2 separate regions of the Homo sapiens genome follow, and region 2 is linked to region 1. Evidence: promoter capture Hi-C in 16 types of primary human blood cells and fetal thymus (Javierre and others, 2016). All regions are on one chromosome and are shown on one strand. Each heading gives the region's core, a stretch centred on a gene start or on the middle of the fragment in contact. The rest is flanking DNA. Distances are from core to core; before and after follow the strand shown.

Evidence for each region. Contacts are between HindIII fragments. The CHiCAGO score rates a contact against its expected background, and 5 or more counts as called.
Region 2: a contact is called between a fragment that was not itself captured here and the fragment with the promoter of CRYBB2 in region 1, in 1 of 17 cell types (M0 macrophages). The highest score is 7.5, in M0 macrophages.

What each region holds. Positions count from the first base shown.
Region 1 is chr22:25,218,175-25,221,492 of GRCh38, forward strand. CRYBB2 (crystallin beta B2) reads left to right here and starts at 1,465. Exons shown (of 6, transcript NM_000496.3): 1 at 1,465-1,492; 2 at 3,230-3,309. The coding sequence starts at 3,256. The HindIII fragment of the contact is 9,715 bases long and covers 1-3,318 here.
Region 2 is chr22:25,764,909-25,768,226 of GRCh38, forward strand. It overlaps MYO18B (myosin XVIIIB), which reads left to right. Exons shown (of 44, transcript NM_032608.7): 4 at 3,207-3,318. Among named protein-coding and RNA genes, the nearest start is that of MYO18B, 24 kb to the left of the region's middle. The HindIII fragment of the contact is 443 bases long and covers 1,611-2,053 here.

The DNA.
Region 1 (3,318 bases), core at 215-2,714:
TGTGAACACGGGAGGCAGAGCTTGCAGTGAGCTGAGATCGTGCCACTGCACTCCAGCCTGGGCGACAGAGCGAGACTCCATCTCAAAAAAAAAAAAAATAGAAAAGAAATGTGAGTAAAGGCTGGGCACCCATGTGGCAGCGATGGGGCCAGTGGTAGGGATCTAAGAGCAACTCACTCTAGGACAGTGGTTAAGAAACAGGCCGGGTGCAGTGGCTCATGCCTGGAATCCCAGCACTTTAGGAGGCCAAGGTGGATGGATTGCCTGAGCTCAGGAGTTTGAGACCACCCTGGGCAACATGTCAAAACCCTGTCTCTAACAAGATACAGCAAAAAAAAGAATTTAGCTGGACCTGGTGGCGCACACCTGTAGTCCCAGCTACTGGTGAGGCTGAGGCAGGAGAATCGCTTGAACCTGGGAGGCAGAGGTTGCAGTGAGCCGAGATCACACCACTGCACTCCAGCCTGGGTGACAGAGTGAGATTCCATCTCAAAAGAAAGAAAGAGAAAGAAAGAAAGAGAGAGAGAGAGGGGGAGAGAGAGAGAGAGAGAGAGAGAGAGGGGAGAGAGAGAGAGAGAGAGAGAGAGAGAGAGAGAGAGAGAGAGAAGAAAGAAAGAAAGAAAGAAAGAAAGAAAGAAAGAAAGAAAGAAAGAAAGAAAGAAAGAGAAAGAAAGAAAGAAAGAAAAGAAAGAGAAACAGCCAGGGGCCTTGAGAATAAAATGCACTCTCCATAATTGGCCTCCCTGGCCCTGCAACATCAGGCCCTGCCCACCTTGGCCACCTGGCACAGGCCCTATTTGTCACATGTCATGCTTTAGCTTTGTTAACCTGTTTTCAGGTCTTCTTGAAATACACCATGCTGGTTCCTTGTATATGGACCCTTTCTGCTTGGAACTGTCCCCCCACCCTGTTCCCAGGCTTCCTCTTCTCCATCCCTGAGGGATGCGCTACCTCCCAGGAGCTTTTCTGAATGGCCTGGGCTGGCGTAGGTCCTCTTCCTGACACTCCCCTGGAACAGAGATTGTCACCAAGTGGATGCCCAACAAATATTTGTTGAATGAATAAATGGGTAGATGAATGAAGCCCAGACTCTGCCAAACCACCCTTCTTTACTTGTTCTTCCCCAGGCCCACTGAGATGTTCCTCTGTCTGCCATGCCTCACGGCCTGACTGACCGTACCAGTGAACCCAGCGTACCCCTGGCCCTGGCAGCCGGACGGCTGATGCATGCAAAGCGGGCATCTCCTTGCCCAGCCGCCTGACCGCCCTGGCGCGGCCGAATCTGAAAGCTAATGACATTATTGTGCAGAGACACAATGTCTGTGGGCATTTGCTGACCCGAGCTTTGGTGAGAGCTTAATCCAGCATTCTCACCCTGCTTTTCGCAGGAGCACAGCGGTCACTCATCTTGGCACCGGCACTTCTGGGGAAGGTATAAATGCCACCTCCCGCTGGCCGAGCTTCACGGCACTCGCAGGGGCTGGTGTCACTGGTAAGATTGCCTCTCTTGCTTGTCTTCCCTTCTTTCTCTCATCCTCACCCCTGTCCGCAAGCATGGGAGCACCCAGATTCTGACAAGTGACTTTGGGCAGAGACTTCAATGCTGTTAGCCTCAGTTTTCTTTTCTGGTAACTGGGAAGGGGGTTAAAAAGCCTTCTTTATTGTAAGGATTCAAGAGAAGTTAGGGGATCATCCAGCACAGTGCCTGGCACACAGTGGGCATTGGGGCAATGTTCTTTATTATTAATATTAAACAGACTATCAGCATCCTTGTTTCGCCAGTCGCTGAGGAGGAGAATGTAACTGAGGGTTTTGCAAGAATCAAACCAGTGACAGTTCAGCATTGTTTCTAGGTGGGTGAGTCAGTTTTCCTCCACATCTGCAATTAGGGGGCACCCACTCTGTGCCTAGCCTCTGGGAGTGCTAGGGGATAGGATGCAGCCACAGGTATGTGACAGGTCCCAGCAACAGGTGATTTCAATGCCACTAAAGCATGGTAGAAATGACTCTAATAATGCCACAATTGCTGCCATTTGCTGCATGCTGAGTGTGTTCTGGGACCACGGCCAAGTGCTTCCGGTTTTATACATTACATAATTGAATCCTCACAACCTGTTCACAGGTATTATTAGACATCATTACTGTCCCCATTTTATAGAACAGGAAGTTGAGGCATAGGGAGAGGATGAGACCTGCCCAGAGTCTCAATTCTGGCAGGCAGCAGAGACTGCTCCTGAACTGGACCAACTGAGCTTCTTCAGTCTGTGAACACTCAGGACTGGGAAGTGATATGGCAGGACCTCAGGCACTCTGACAAGCCCAGAGGGCTGGTTTCTTGCGGGAGAGCAGTAGATTTGGCTGCCAAGGTGCTTAACTGCATTTCTTCCTCCTGGGAAACATCCAGTATTGGCCTTTCATGTGGAAGGGGCTTCTGGAAGCTGGCGTTATCTCTGAAGAGGGAGGCCAGGCTTCCTCTCTTACCCCTGGGGAAACACAGCCTGGTTTGACCACCCCTTCTGCAGGAAGGGGGAAGAGGCTGACAATTTTCCAGGCTTTTCTGATGTTCTCACTAGCTAAGGCAGGTCTACCCTGCTGCCTGCCACAGTGCCTGGATTTCTACCGTCGCACCCATTTCTTCTCTTTCTTGTAATGTGGGTTCTGTATCAGATGATTTCACTAATGGGGGAGTAAAACCAGTGGCAGAGAAGAGAAATCTAGGTACCAGGATGGGGAGAGGAGTCCCAGGGAGAGGGTGGGAGAAGGAGCAGGGGAACAGGGAACTTTGTGAGTTCCTAAACTGGGCACCACCACACCACCAAATACAGCCAATGCATAGGTTTTGTTTGTTCCACACAATTTTATTTAAGAAATTACTGCATAAAGGCAGAAGTTCTGGGATTGACCATTCTATATTCTGTGTGGTATCCATTGTCTGGGGTTGAGTGTTGGGAACCCACTTTGGACCTCATTTAAGCTCTAGTTTATTACTGCTCTCTTTCTTTGAGTAGACCTCGTTTTTCCCTCCTCCTGCAGCTGGCCTGGATAGAAATAAATGAAGCTAAGGACAGAAGTTGAAGTAGCTGCTTACGGACCCCACAGCTCTGGGACAGTCTGAAACCAGGAGAAAAAGAGAATGTTTGGGGCCAGAGGGGAGTGGTCTCAAGGCCCCACAGAGTGAAAAAGCCAGTGGCCCCTCCAGGTCCTCACTGCTGCTTCCCATGTCTTCCAGGTCATTCCTGCACAGGACAGTCCACCATGGCCTCAGATCACCAGACCCAGGCGGGCAAGCCACAGTCCCTCAACCCCAAGGTGGGTACC
Region 2 (3,318 bases), core at 582-3,081, 550 kb after region 1:
CAAGGTCATCAGACCAGATAGAGGCAGAGCGAGGGGGAGAGCCTGTGTGTTCTCTGCTCTCACAAGATGCCTGGAAAAGGACCAGTCTGGTGAGTGAGGTGGCCGGGGTGGTGCCACAGAGACCTGGGGGAAAGGGTTCCATGAGATTGACACCAGCAGCGCTGGTGTCACTGTGAGCAAGTAAAGAGGCAGAGTTAAGCCATGGATGGGGACAAACTGTCACTGCTGTGCCTGGATGGAGACTCAGAGCCAAGATGCAGGATGGCTCTGAGCCTCAGCCCACAGCAGGTGGCTGGACCATGGGCCAAGATATTCCTGGGGCTGGAGCAAGGGAGCCTCAGGACATGTTTCCACAAGGCAGCAAGCTCTGGCTGGTTCCTGCCAATTTAATTTTCTTGTCCCAATCAATAAATAACTCCGTACTCTCTTGCCTTGTCCCAGCACAACTGTTTCATTTGATCCTCATCTAATCCTTGCAAGAAGCCATTAGAATCCATCCCATTTTGCAGGAATGGAAAACAAGGCTTGGGGAAGTGACCTGGTTCTCCTAGGGCTACCCAGTCAGTGAGGAACAGGGAGAGGCTGGAATAACACTGGAGTGGAAAGTAACCCGTATTGAATGTCAAGGAGACCTAGATTCTAGCTCTGGCCCTGCCGCTTTTTGTGGTCCTGGCTAAACCCCTTCCCCTTTCTTGGCCTCAGTTTACTCATCTGTAAAAATGTGCTATTAGTTTCTATTGGCCCCAGTTATTCTAGAGGTGCTGTTTCCCTCTATATGCTAAAAAGGGTGGCAGGGTGGGGGGACCAAAGGCTTTGATGACTTTGAAGGTCCAAAGGAAGAGAATCCATGGGCATATGAGGGTGGGGTGGGAGGAGGCTGGCACTGGTTATCTTGTTTGGCCCACCCCATGTTACTGTCTCCTCTGTGGTGGTTGGTTAAAAATAAGGCACTGACTTACTTTTCAATATGGTGTAGACAGTGGTGAGATTTGCCAAGTGCAGTCAATCCCCCTTCCAAGGCTATGTCCTGCCTTCCCCCAGAAGGTCAGGAGAAGCTACTCGGCCTTGGGCCCCAGAGCCATGATGCTGAGCACCAGCTGAACCTCGTAATCACCCGGGCAGTCACAACCCAGGCAGACTCAATCAGAGTCTCTGGGAATAAGGCCAAGGAGTTAAGGTTTTTAAAAGTGCCCCAGGAGATTCCAGAGAGCCCTAGAGAGAAAAGGAAGGGCATCTAATATGCCGCAGTTCAAGGCACTGGCTTTGGAGTCAGAGAGAACTGGCTTTACATTTCACCTTTGTAGCTGGGTCACCTTACATCTTTACATCTAGTTCTTTGCTTGTAGAATGGGGAGAAGTTCAGAATCTACTCCAGTTGTTCCTTCGGAGGATTAAATAGGAGATTGCATGATGGTGATATAGGGCTCATTGCAAGGAAGATATAAATGATAGATACTATTATTATTGTGATTATTACAAAGATGAAAACAGAGACTTTGCTGTGGCATTGGTCACCTAAAACAGGAGAGAGACACAAAAGCCAGAATGGAACGCAGAAGGTGGCCACGCTGTGACTGGTGTACTAGCATAGTGCTCTGGAACTTTGTGCAAGCTTGGAACAATTTCTGATTGAGGTCTTCAGGCAAAGATTTGTAGAGAGGAGATAGAAGAGATATTTGAGCTGGGTATAGAAGATGAGTAGACCATGGACAAGTGAAGAGGGGAAAGGGCACGCCAGGCAGCAAGCTCAGCATGGGCAACAGCCTGGAAGCAGGGACTGGTCAGGTAGGAGAAGGTGACCAGTACAGTTCATGCATGGGAACAAGTAGGGACAATATGGTCAGATTGGAGGCTGGGGTTCCTTGTTGAGGAATTTGAAAGACCAATGGTGGTGCCAAATGATTTTCCTTTAGGCTGTGGGCAGCTACCCAAATCTTTTGATCTGGTATAAAATGGCTGGCAGCAAATTGAAGGGACAGCAGTTCACGGGCTGTGGCAATGGCCCAAGTGAGGGATAGCGGACATGAGTTTGGAAAAAGAGACATAGATGTGAAGCTTGGCAGGGTGGAATCAACATGCCCCTGGGACTGGTTTGAATGCAAGAGGAGGGGGAGAATCCCAGATTCCCAGGCATGGGTGTCTGTGAGGCTGTGCTGGCATTGTCCAAGATGGAAGAACCCAGGCTAGGGCTGGTGGTGAAGCGAGACATCAGGGTAGAACTTGCTTATGAGGTTGAGGTCTTTTTCTGCAGAGATGGAGGCACAGCTGGACCTGTGAGCTCTTCAGGCCATAGCCAGGCTGGTTTGAGGATGAAGCTCTGCACAAGGCTAAAATCACAAGGCAGTAACAAGGCCTGGGAAGGGAGCAGGCAGTGGAAACCCCTTGGGTGTTATGCAGTCACAAATGTCTGGGTCAGGCAAGAGTGGGGGACCCCAGGGGCAGAAACCAGGGCCCTCAGCTGGTATGGGAAGTGTGATATGGGGATCAGGGCAGTGGAAGTAGCAGCAGCTCGGTTTATTCTTCTCTCTCTGATCTCCAAAGTGCATTTCTACATCTCATCCTATAAAAGATCTGGATGGTCAGGTGGTATCTGCCTGTACTGGGGAAACCCGAAGCCCAGAGAGAAGAGATGGTAGCCCAGATAGACATAGAAGGAAGCCTAGCTGGAGAGTGTTAGAGCCAAGGTGAGAACAGGTCCTCTAGTGACAGGCCCTGAGTCCTTTCCTGGATCCCCTACTCGCCTAGGAAAAATCCAGGCAGAAATAACAACAGTAGTAGCAGCAGCTACTGTTGTTGAGGACACACTATGCGCTGGGCTCAGTTTCTACATATTGTCACACATTCTCACACCTACCCTGCAAGGTAGGCTTTTATCATTCTCATTTTATTGATTAAAAAACAGACTCAGAGAGGAGAAGTCATTTAGCTAAGGTCACACAGCTATAGAGTGTCAGAGTCAGGAGTTGAACTTGGTTCTGTTGGGCTCCAAAGTCCACTCCTTCCACTCCATCACTCAACTTTGAGGGGCTAGGCCAAGGTCAAGGGTGCTAGGCTTGGCCATGCCTGTTGGATTTGGAGGTGCTCGAGCATCTGTGGAAGGATGAATGGAGAAGTGAACAATGAAATGAATGAACGAACACGAGTGAATGACAAAGCTGTCAGGTCAGCAAGCAGCTATGTAGGCATGGTTGTGTTCTTTCTCCCAGATCCCAGAAATTTCCATCAGCCAACCCAACAGCAAGTCCAGCAGTGGCACCAGATCTGGAAGCCAGCAGATCTCTCAGGACGACCAGTCAAGCTCTCCTGGGAGCTCAGACA